4 separate regions of the Homo sapiens genome follow, and regions 2, 3 and 4 are each linked to region 1. The links are contacts of gene promoters, found by promoter capture Hi-C in human tissues and cell types (Jung and others, 2019). All regions are on one chromosome and are shown on one strand. The core of a region is centred on a gene start or on the middle of the fragment in contact, and the rest is flanking DNA. Distances in the headings are between cores, read along the strand shown.

Region 1 (2,857 bases), core at 273-2,772:
CCTGGTATAGAGCTGGGGCACAAAAAATGTGACTGCTGTTTAATCTTCACACCCTGTGGCGTAACTGAGTCTGTATTGGGGTGGAGGGTGGGGAGACCTTTCCTATCTGGAAACCCAGAGGCCTAGCAAAGGGTTCAAGTGCAAGGCCGAGGGTAAGGGGCTCTGGCCCCTGCAGAACTAGATTCTGGAGAAGGCACAGGTGTGGACTTCGCCCCAGCGTGTGCAGCCGGTGTGGCCCAGGTGTAAGCTGGGGTGGGGTGGGGGGAGGACCTGCCAGCTGGATAAGCTGGATAGAGCCCCTGATTAAGGCTTGGGTGTTGACTTTGGCAGGTGTCAGCCACTGGGGCGCCTGCCGCCCACCAACTCATGCCAAATACAACCCCTTCTCTGAGTTCCAAGGGGAAGGGGTTTTCTATGTACAGGGCCCAGGTTTAGAGTCCAGTTCTACCCCCTAAATGGGTACTGCTATTTTCTATTTGTCAAAGGGGCCAGGCCTGTCTCCTTCTGCCCAAGGCTGACTCACTCCAGCCCCAGTCCACGGAGGCAGGAGTGAGAGTCCTTATACCCAAGGAAACGATCCCAGCCACTTAATTAACACAACCCCACCACCACGACCACTGCCGCCCACCCTTGGTCTTTCCAGGCAATCTGTCCCACGGCTAGGCTCCTTGAATCTGCCCACACTCCAACATGCTGCTTCATCCGAGTCCAAGGTGCTCCCTCAACCCTCATAACCTCTCCCAGGCCTCAGTTTCCCCAGCTGTCTATGGCCGCTGCGGGAACCGCACGGAGAGGCTGCAGAAGGCCTGGATGCAGGCGGGGCAGAGGCAGAGACAGCCCTGGCACAGCTATTTCTCAACTGCCTTTGGGGCTTTTTTCCATTTTAAACCAGGACCCAACCGGCCCCACCCCGTGTTCCAGGAGAACGAGTTTAAGGAGGGGAAGAGAAGAGGCAGGAAACCTTTCCCCACGCAGGGCAGGGCCGCAAGGCTGGGGCCCCCACCTCCCCCAGCCTTAGCTCACCTGTGTCAGTCGGTCCCGCCTCTTTCTAACCATCTGCCGACCCTCCCTCAAGCCTGGCCCCGGAGGGCTCGCCTCTGTTCCCCTTCACTAGATTTGGGGCGCCCCAGCCAATGCAGGTGGACTCAGGAGTTTCCCCCATCACCATATGGTCCCAACGCCTGTCCCCAGCTGGGCTCTCTGCCCCGCCCGCGCCCCATCAGCGCTTCCCAAGTGCCCAGCTGGGTGGGGGCGAGGGCAGAGGCGTTCCCCGCAGCCCCGCCTTTGTTCCCCAGACCCCCTACCTTCCTCCCAAACCCCCGTACCCCACAGACCTGCTCGGATGCGGAGGGGCCGGGTGGGCTGCGCTCCTTCCCAGGGGTGACCTCGCGTAGGGGGCGCCGCCTGCAGGGGTTCCGCCTGTGAACTCGCTGCGGCTTGGCCCTGGCCGCGACCCCGACCCCGCAGCCGCAGAAGCCAGCAGCCTGCAGCCACCCGGATCCCGCGCGGGCTCCGCCCAGAAGGCGGAGGAAGGGCCGTTCCCGGAGCGGGGGATGGGGGAGGACGAAGAGGGGCCGAGTCTTGGGCGGGGCTTTCAGAGAGCGGGTGGGAGGGGCTGGAAGCTGCACCAAGCGTCTAGAGCCCGTCCTAGCCAAGCAACATCTCATTTTCCCAGCTGCTTGTAAAGAGCTTCTACTATACGCACGGCTGTTAAAAGCATAGAGTCTTGGGCCTGGTTCGAGTCCCAGCTCCACCACTTTCTAGTCTTGTGGCTTTGGACGCGTTACTTAACCTCTTTGAGCCTCAGTTTCCCCATCCGTCAAGTAGCTCATAGCGAGAGTACCCAACCTCACAGAGTTGTGGGAGGATTCTGATCTGAGTTAGTGTTTGTCAAGTGCAGTGCCGGCCTTAAAGTAGGCTAGGCCAGGCGCGGTGGCCTGTAATTACAGCAGTTTGGGAGGCCGAGGCAGGAGAATCACTTGAGGCCAGGAGTTTGAGACCAGCTTGGGCATCGTAAGGAGACCTCATCTCTACTAAAAATAACAAAAATTAGCCAGGTGTGGTGGCGTGCGTCTGTAACCCCAGCTACTTGGGAGGCTGAGGCAGGAGGATTGCTGGAGACATCGAGGCTGCAGTGAGCCTTGATTGCACCACAGCACTCCAGCCTGGGCAACAGAGCAAGACCCTGTTTCAAATAAATAAAAATAAACGAGAGCTGGGCGCGGTGGCTTATGCCTGTAATCCCAGTACTTTGGGAGGCCAAGGCAGGCGGATCACTTGAGGTCAGGAATTTAAGACCAGCCTGGCCAACATGGTGAAACCTCATCTCTACTAAAAAAAAAAAAAAAAAAATACAAATATTAGGGGCTGGGCACGGTGGCTCACACCTGTAATCTCAGCACTTTGGGAGGCCGAGGTGGGCAGATCACCTGAGGTCGGGAGTTCGAGACTAGCCTGGCCAACGTGAAGAAACCCTGTCTCTACTAAAAAATACAAAATTAGCCAGGCGTGGTGACGCATGCCTGTAATCCCAGTTACTCTGGAAGCTGAGGCAGGAGAATTGCTTGAACCCGGAAGGCGGAGGTTGCAGTGAGCCGAGATCACGCCACTGCACTCCAGCCTGGGCAAAAAGAGCGAAACTCTGTCTCAAATAAATAAATAAATATACAAAAATTAGCCGAGCATGGTGGTGCACACCTGTAATCCCAACTACTTGGGAGGCTGAGGCAGGAGAATCGCTTGAACCCAGGAGGTGGAGGTTGCAGTGAGCCGAGATCGCGCCACTGCACTCCAGCCTAGACGATGGAGTGAGACTCTGTCTCAAAAAAAAAAAAAAAAAAATTAAAAAATAAATGAG
Region 2 (2,730 bases), core at 120-2,619, 310 kb before region 1:
GAGAGAGCCTGGTTCCCACCCATCCCAGTGCCCTTCTGCCTACTCCATAAGGACAAGGACTTTGGTCAGTTGAACTACAGATGTGTCCTCTGCATGTGATGTGGTCATGGCCACAGGGCCAGAGAATCCATTGCGAGTAGAGGAAGGGTAGGAGCTCAGTGAAGTCTCCTGAGACTGCATCTCCCATGGGTGGGCTGGCATCTGGGAGCCGGGTGGCCCCTCACCTCAGCCCCTCCTCCGAGCTGGAGTAGCAGGGGCACATCTGGTGCCTGAGAGAGGGTGGGACGGCAGGTGGATGGCCAGGCTACTGTGGGCTTCTGCACCGTGCCTGGGCATGTGTAGGCTGGTGGCAGGAAATGGCCAGTTTTTATTTCTTCTTTTTTTTGAGACGGAGTTTCACTCTTGTTGCCCAGGCTGGAGTGCAGTGGCATGATCTCAGCTCACTGCAACCTCCGCCGCCTGGATTCAAGCGATTCTCCTGCCTCATCCTCCCTGGTATCTGGGATTACAGGCGCCCGCCACTACGCCCAGCTAATTTTCTTGTATTTTTAGTAGAGACGGGGTTTCACCATGTTGGCCAGGCTGGTCTCGAACTCCTGTCCTCAGGCGATCCACCCACCTCAGCCTCCCAAAGTGTTGGGATTACAGGCATGAGTCACCGCGCCCGGCCTGCCAGTTTTTATTTCATCACCAAAATGACTTCAGTGTTCAGGGGCACCTCTGTCCGAACTCCCAGCAGCGCAGGGAGTGTTGACATTGCCTTAATGCCCACAACGCTGAGGGCATCGTGGGTTGTCACCCAGGAGACCTGCTCTGGCTCCTTGACTTGGGTTTTCTGGGGCATGGGGACACTGATCCTGCCAGAAAGGACACGAGCCCCCTTTATAAGGTCTCCATGCTTTTACCGTAGAAGATTCTCTTTGTGAACCACAAAACTTTTTGAGACAGGGCTGAAGGCAGGTGCACCCACAGTCACTGTCCACCCACCCCCAGGTCCCTTGTGTTGCGAGCGGCGGTGTTGCCGGCATTGGCCGCTGTGTCTTCCGCTCCCCATGGAATGGCACAGGGTAGAGTAGAGGAGAGAATCCAGGGCTGTGGTGGTGGTGGCTGTGCTGACGCTGGACGCTGTGGCCTAGCTGTGGGCTGGGTGCTGGACTCTGTGCTCCAGGCCCACCTCCTCTAGTTCTCCCAGCGGGGCCTGTTTTCATTTCTGGGATGTGTGGAGAGACGTTTTGTGGTGAAACACTGGAAATCCAGTTATTCGCCAGTGGCCCACAGGCCCGTGTGGAGAGTGCGGAGCCAGGGATCTGGGGATGCTGGCAGGTGCTGATCCTGCTCCTGCTCTCAGAAGCAGGTGTTCCTTGGTGTCCCCACTCTACCCCTGAGGTCACCCCGCTGACCCTGTTCTCCTCTGTGCCCGTCAGGAACCACGAAGGCGGAGGACCGGGGCATGCTGCTGAAAACCTTCAACGAGCCCGGCTCTGAGTACTTCATCTTCCTGCTCAGCACCCGGGCTGGGGGGCTCGGCCTGAACCTCCAGTCGGCAGACACTGTGATCATTTTTGACAGCGACTGGAATCCTCACCAGGTAAAAGCGGGCCGGGCCCCAGGTCGAGGAGAAGGAAGGGGGTGCCTGCAAAACCTCGAGGAGACGGCCCTGGCTTGAGGGTCCTCCAGCCTCCTCCACATTGTCTTGGACCCCAGGAGCCGGGAGGAGCTGCACCCATATCTCCATAGGTCATCAGGGAGAAAAGAGGCGGGGTCCTCCTGTTTCCCAAAATACAAACAGCCTTTCCCTCTGATTGGGAAAGCAGTGTATAAGCCATCCGTCGGTTTGGTTTTTCTTAAATCTTGGAATGGCACCCATGAGGAGGTGGAAAGTATCCTGATCAATCTGCGCCGTCACTGTGGGGCGGCCCCTGCAGTGTGCCCTGTGAGCACACACACTGGCGCTTGTTCAGACACAATTGGGGGTAAACTCCATGCCACTTCGTTTACTTCCTCCTCTTGTTCCATAACCATGTACCCCTCATGGGCCTCGGCATCGGTGGATACCAGGTCATGCTGTTACATAGCTACAAGAATTTGAAAATGAGTTAAACTTTTCTCTGTGTTTCATTATAAGACTGATAAGTTCTTATTGTTTTTAACATGTAAACACCAGTGACAGTCAGGAGTCCCTTTTCCCTTCCTCTCCAACCGTGCTCTCTTCTGAGCCTCTGCCAGCCCATCTGCCTTCGCACATGTATGTACTGAGATTAACACAGATGCGGCGTGGCCTAGCATGTGCCTCTTCCACCAAGCAGTGGGTGTCAACCGCCGAGTGCACATCGGAAGCTACCCAGCCATCTAATCGGCCACCAGGCGTCCCGGCAGATGGCCACCCCTGGACGTCTGCTCTCAAACTCTGGTTGGCAGGCATCCGTCTTTTCTGTTGATCAGCCTGGTCACCAACCCAGCAGGGTCCCTCTTTCTCTCAGAGTGCTTGTGCAAACACCCTAGGTCTGCGCAGCCCTCAGACATGGGGTCGCTCCACCCCAGACATTGTCCTCTTCGTGTTCTGGTTGCTACTGCCAAAGTGGTTTCACTCCTACGCTGGGGTGTGAATGTACCCTGCCCTTCCCTGCAGCGTGAGGGCAGCAGCGTTCTCAGTGTGTAAATTGTCGCTTGTCTGATGGGTGAATGCCGTGGTGGTCACTGGTGGCCCCTTTTACGATCAGGCTGGGGTGT
Region 3 (2,814 bases), core at 303-2,802, 500 kb before region 1:
AGTAGAGACGGGGTTTCACCATGTTGGCCAGGCTGGTCTCAAAACTCCTGACCTCAGGTGATCCACCCGCCTCAGCCTCCCAAAGTGCTGGGATTACAGGCGTGAGCCACCGTGCCCGGCCTGAAATGAACTACTTATTTTAAGAGCTGCTACTCTTACTATAATTCAGTTGGAGGGCACAACTACGGAGGGGAGGCTGGGTCAGCCCAAGGGGGGCACCCCAGGTGAATCCTAGAGATCTGGAAGGAGTGGCCCCAGCGCAGCCTGGACACACCTTGATGTCCTCCATTTTAACATCCAGCATCTCCTCGGGCTCCACAGCCTCTGCCCATCCTTCGACCTCCTCGTCATCCTGGAGGCTGTCAAAGATCAGTTCAAAGAACACCAGCTTCTCGGAGATGGTGCTGAAGGAGTTGTCAAAGCACAGCTTGTAGTCCCCGGCCTCCGTTGGCTCCACCCTGGGCAGACAGACACACAGACATGACCCAGGGTGGCCAGCCAGCCGACTCAGCGGGGCAGTCAGGGCGGTAACCTGAGGCCGCCTGGGAAGGGCAGGGCTGTAACTGAACCCAGGCAGGCATCAAGACTGAACTCACGTGTGTACCCCATCAGCCTTGCGGGACTCGCTGACCAACAGCACGCCCTGAGGGCTCTCCAGCGTGAAGTCCACGTCCAGTCCAGCACCTCCGATCACCTGGGGGGCAGGTAAGAGCGGGTGGAGGGCTAGCGGTAGGCCAAGGGCGCCTGCCGAAGAGGGCTACGGCTGAACCAACACTGATCAATACAGACCACCAAGGGCTTACCTGAACGGCGGCACACCCACACCCGCCCCAACCTGTCCCAGTGGCTGCGCCCCTTGCCTCCACCCTCATTGATATGACAGCTTGGGGTCCATACTTTCAGCTGACCACGCACCTACCAAAAGTACTTAATGGACGTTTACCTGACCACGCCCCTGGTTGGCTCCGCCTCCGAAAGAGGATAGGCCCAGCCTTTTTCCTTAGTCTAACCCCCGAGAAAGGCCTGTGTGGGCAACGCCCCCGCAGTTGACCTATCAGCACTATCGCCACGCCCACCAGCCAGAGTCCTGTCCTCTCAGAGGCTCCCTATACTTATCGATGGCCCCGCCCCCTCTGGATCTCTTACTCTAGCCCCGCCTGCTTCATTACTCCCTCCCCTTCCGCTCCCACACACCGTCCCCGCCCCATCTGTCCATCTCTTTCTAGCTCCGCCCCCGCGCTCCCAAGCACGGATTCCTCCCCCTTCCTCCTAAAGCGCGCCTCGCCTCGACCGCTTGGCCACGCCCCCTCTCCCTGACTCTGCTGGCCGCCCAGCCCGCGACCCTCTACCTGGTATTCGGTCTCGAGGCTTGCGTTGGCCGGCGCGGACTGGTAGAAACACTGCTTCCTCCCCGCCGGCAACAGGAACGTGAACTCACCGTCCTGGATTGGCGGGGGCCCCGCCCCTCCCACCTCCACTGGTGGCATTAGTAGCCACAAGGCCAGGGCTAGGGCCGCGCCGGCCGCCATCATCCGGGTCACCCTCTGGTCTGCAAAGGGGTCGCGGCTCCTTTAAGCGCTAGCCCTGCCCCGGTGCTACTCGGCGGAGCTCATTGGCAGTGGCTTCTGTATGTTGTCCGTAACCAGAGGTGCCAGGAGTGAAGGACCCCCCCACTAGAGGGCAGGCGGCCCGAATGAATGCCTGATGTGCCCAGAAACACTCAACCGTCTGGGAATATTTTTCTCAAAGGCTTCGGCTCTCTTCTCGGCCGCTGGTGGAGGAAAATTACAAAAATAAGTGCCATGATGGCGCATCTTTTGTAGGCAGTAGCTAAGACAACTAAAGTTACAGGCGGCAGGGTCCTTTTTAGTCACCTCCACGTGGTTTTCCCAGAGTGCGCCGCGCGTGACAACCTTTGGCGGGACCGACGTGGTGGAGTGGACCCAAAAATAGCGTCTAGGCGTGGCCCTGTACGCGACCCGTAGGGCTCGCCTATAAAAGGGCTGGGGCGGGGCGGAGATACCTGTGGCGTCGTGTTTTGCTTGCTCTGTGAGCGTGGTCCAGGTTCGACGCCTTTTGCGCCTTAGAGGCATCAGCGTATCAGTTTCCTCGTAAGTCGGGAGTGATGGAACGACCACCCTGTAGTGCGGCTGTGAGAATTGAGATGAGGCTTGGTTCATATTGAGTGCTCAGCTTTCCTGGCTTATAGACAGTGGAGGGGCGTGGCCCCACCATGCACCCCAAGGGTCTCAGACTCAAGGGCCAGCAGGTAAATAGAGCCATTACAGTAGCCTCGGGTCAGAAAAACGACAGCCCAGGTAGGAAGAGATAAGGACAGTGTGGGACTGGGAGCCACGTTGCCTGGTTCAGCTCCTGCCCCACCCATTACTTGAGGCATTCCCTCTGTTGAGCCTCAGTTTCCTCTTCTGCAAAATGGGGATAATAGGCCTACGCTACTGGGCTGTCTTTAGGATACGTGAAATGCTTGTTGAGTGCTTGCTTCCGCAGTGCGTGGGACATCACAGGCCCTCAGTAAATAATAATCTGTTATTTGGTTCCCGTCTAAACATAAACTGTGTACAGGGAGATGTTTAGTCTTCAAAGATAAACCCGGAAAAGGTTGGCAGGTGATGACAAAGATCCCTCAAATACAGCTGGCTGTTGTCAGCACTTTCCTGCATTTGGAGAATTTGGGGAAGTAGCTCTTTGTAATATCAGTTTGGTATTCCTTTTCACTCCAACTTTTTCTATCATTTACACTCACTGCTTGGACAATTTGAAGTAACAGTGGAGAACGGGTGACTCCTTTTCTTT
Region 4 (2,700 bases), core at 98-2,597, 420 kb after region 1:
CTTTTTTTTTAGACGGAGTCTTGCACTTTCGCCTGAGCTGGAGTGCAATGGCATGATCTCGACTGACTGCAACGTCCTCCTCCCGGGTACATGCGATTCTCCTGCCTCAGCCTCCTAAGTAGCTGGGACTACAGGTTCACACCACCACGCCTGGCTAATTTTTTGTATCTTTAGTAGAGACAGGGTTTCACTATGTTGGCCAGACTGGTCTCGAATTCCCGACCTCCTGAACTGCGCCCCACCCCCCCACCCTTTCAAAGTGCTGGAATTATAGGTGTGAAAAATTTCCTGTCACTTTAAGAATTATTCCAAAGACATATCTTTCTCTTCCTAGGGCAAATTACCTTAGATTTCTTCTGGGAATTTTGTACTAATCTTTAATGTTTTGGTCTTCCCATTTCATTCCTAAAATGTAGACCCAGAAGAATCACTATATATTATTATAAAATTACATTGAGGCCGGGGGCGGTGGTTCACGCATGTAATCCTAGCACTTTGGGAGGCCGAGGTGGGTGGATCGTCTGAGCTCAGGAGTTCGAGACAAGCTTGGGCAACACAGTGAAACCCCGTCTCTACTAAAAAATACAAAAAAATATTAGCCGGGCATGGCGGCGTGCGCCTGTAGTCCCAGCTACTCGGGAGGCTGAGGCAGGAGAATCAGTTGAACCCAGGAGGCAGAAGCTGCAGTGAGCCAAGATCGTGCCACTACACTCCAGCCTGGGTGACAGAGCAAGACTCCATCTCAAAAAAAAAATAATAATAAATAAAAATAAAATTATATTAAAAATGTAAGATTTTATGTAGACTGCAGTTATGGATGATTTATTCACCAAACCACAGTTGACTCTTCAACAACACAGGTTTGAACTGCATAGATCTCCTTACATACAAATTTTCTTCAGTTTCTGCTACTACTGAGACAGCAAGACCAACCCCTCCTCTTATTCAGCCTACTCAATGTGAAGACAATAAGGATGATAACATTTATGATGCTCCACTTCTACTTAATGAAATAGTAAATATAGTTTTTTCTCCTTGTGATTTTCTGATTAACATTTTTCTCTGCCTTAGTTTATTGTGAGAAAACAATATGTAATGCATATGACATATAAAATATGTGTTAATTGAATGTATATCTTACCAGTAAGGTTTCTGGTCAACAGTAGGCTATTAGTAGTCAAGTTGCGGGGGAGAAAAAAGTTATTTGAAGATTTGTGACTGCATTGAGGGCTGGTGCCCCTAATCCCTGCATTGTTCAAGGGTCAAACGTATTTCTTTTATATTCTAAATCTTTGAACAGCATTGGTGACGAAGAAACAAATATTCGTAATTGACTAAGTAAAGACATGATGTCCCCCTTACCTATACAGTCTAGGTTCCTGATGGTTTCCCGTAGCACATCTCTGTAGAGACTCTTCTATGATGGACCCAGCAAAGCCCACTCCTCCCAGGCAAAAGATCAAAGCCACATCCTCAAAGGCCACTGAGTCCTGAAACACCCGACACGTGCAGAGGAGGAAAGCTGAAACTGACAGCACTGGGAATCTGTACTCACTACATAAATGTCACATGATGCTGTGGTGTCCAAACATTTATGCAACGACACGGTAATCCAACTCTTACCCTCTTTCTAAACTCATTTTCTCCCAGAATGCAATTCTAATGCTAGAATTAAACGTGTTTGGTAAAATAACAGTCGAATTATAAAATGCCACTCCTTGGTGAGTTAAAGGAGTGACATTTATTGCCTAGATCACCCCTAATATCTATGTGTACAGGATGTTTGTAATTCCTGATGTGACAAAGTCCTCCTACCTAATGGGCAGAAGAGTTAACATCAGCTGTCCTGAGACCGCATATTGTTACAAATGCTTGCTCACAAAGTTGAACCTTTCACTATATCTAGGAACTAAATTTAGTTAGGGGGCTTCACCAACATAAGCGATAATGGAGGATGAGTGTCCCTAAACTATGTAAAAAATATGGTATCTGCTGAACTCCTATGTTCCCTCTGAGAGTTCAAACTTTTGTGATATGCTTGGCAGAGGGAGCATACCTGATCATTCACTACTAGGTTTTTTGCTTGTTTTTGTTTTTGTTTTTGTTTTTTTTGAGACAGAGTCTTGCTCTGTCTCCAGGCTGGAGTGCAGTGGCGCAATCTCGGCTCACTGCAACCTCCGCCTCCTGGGTTCAAGCGATTCTCCTGCCTCAGCCTCCCGAGTGGCTGGGATTACAGGCGCACACCACCATGCCCAGCTAATTTTTGTATTTTTAGTAGAGACAGGGTTTCACCATGTTGGCTAGGATGGTCTCGATCTCTTGACCTCGTGATCCACCCACCTCAGCCTCCCAAAGTGCTGGGATTACAGGAGTGAGCCACCGCGCCCGGCCATTCACTGCTAGGTTTGAATGTTTGTCCCCTCCAAAATGCTTGTTGAAACATAATCGCCAATGTGGCACTAATGAAAGGTGAGGCCTTTAAGAGGTGAGTAGATCTTAAGGGTTCAGACCTCATAAATAAATTAATCCATTCATGAATTCATGGCTTACTGAATTAATGAGTTATCTCAGGAGTGGGACTGATGGCCATATTAAAAAAGAAGGGAACCTGAGCTACCACATTCAGCCCATTCTCCATGTGATACCTTCAACCACCTAGAAACTCTGCACAGCCCCCATGACCAAGAAGGCTTTCACCAC

What was found. Contacts are between HindIII fragments. The study calls those that stand out against the background at their distance.
Region 2: a contact is called between a fragment that was not itself captured here and the fragment with the promoter of RAB3D in region 1, in 1 of the 25 tissues and cell types used here (dorsolateral prefrontal cortex).
Region 3: the fragment with the promoter of TMED1 here is called in contact with the fragment with the promoter of RAB3D in region 1 in 1 of the 25 tissues and cell types used here (dorsolateral prefrontal cortex).
Region 4: a contact is called between a fragment that was not itself captured here and the fragment with the promoter of RAB3D in region 1, in 1 of the 25 tissues and cell types used here (dorsolateral prefrontal cortex).

The regions. Positions count from the first base shown.
Region 1 is chr19:11,338,135-11,340,991 of GRCh38, forward strand. RAB3D (RAB3D, member RAS oncogene family) reads right to left here and starts at 1,523. Exons shown (of 5, transcript NM_004283.4): 1 at 1,335-1,523. RefSeq lists a silencer at 1,306-1,565. The HindIII fragment of the contact is 13,813 bases long and covers 1,316-2,857 here.
Region 2 is chr19:11,029,306-11,032,035 of GRCh38, forward strand. It overlaps SMARCA4 (SWI/SNF related BAF chromatin remodeling complex subunit ATPase 4), which reads left to right. Exons shown (of 35, transcript NM_003072.5): 25 at 1,425-1,588. Among named protein-coding and RNA genes, the nearest start is that of LDLR, 59 kb to the right of the region's middle. The HindIII fragment of the contact is 7,365 bases long and covers 1-2,730 here.
Region 3 is chr19:10,834,660-10,837,473 of GRCh38, forward strand. It overlaps TMED1 (transmembrane p24 trafficking protein 1), which reads right to left and starts at 1,553. Exons shown (of 4, transcript NM_006858.4): 1 at 1,350-1,553; 2 at 597-694; 3 at 275-458. The coding sequence starts at 1,532. It also overlaps a transcript of C19orf38 not described here. RefSeq lists enhancers at 51-688, 1,326-1,962, 1,728-1,827. The HindIII fragment of the contact is 15,983 bases long and covers 1-2,814 here.
Region 4 is chr19:11,758,444-11,761,143 of GRCh38, forward strand. No RefSeq gene overlaps it. Among named protein-coding and RNA genes, the nearest start is that of ZNF441, 7.2 kb to the right of the region's middle. The HindIII fragment of the contact is 5,499 bases long and covers 1-2,700 here.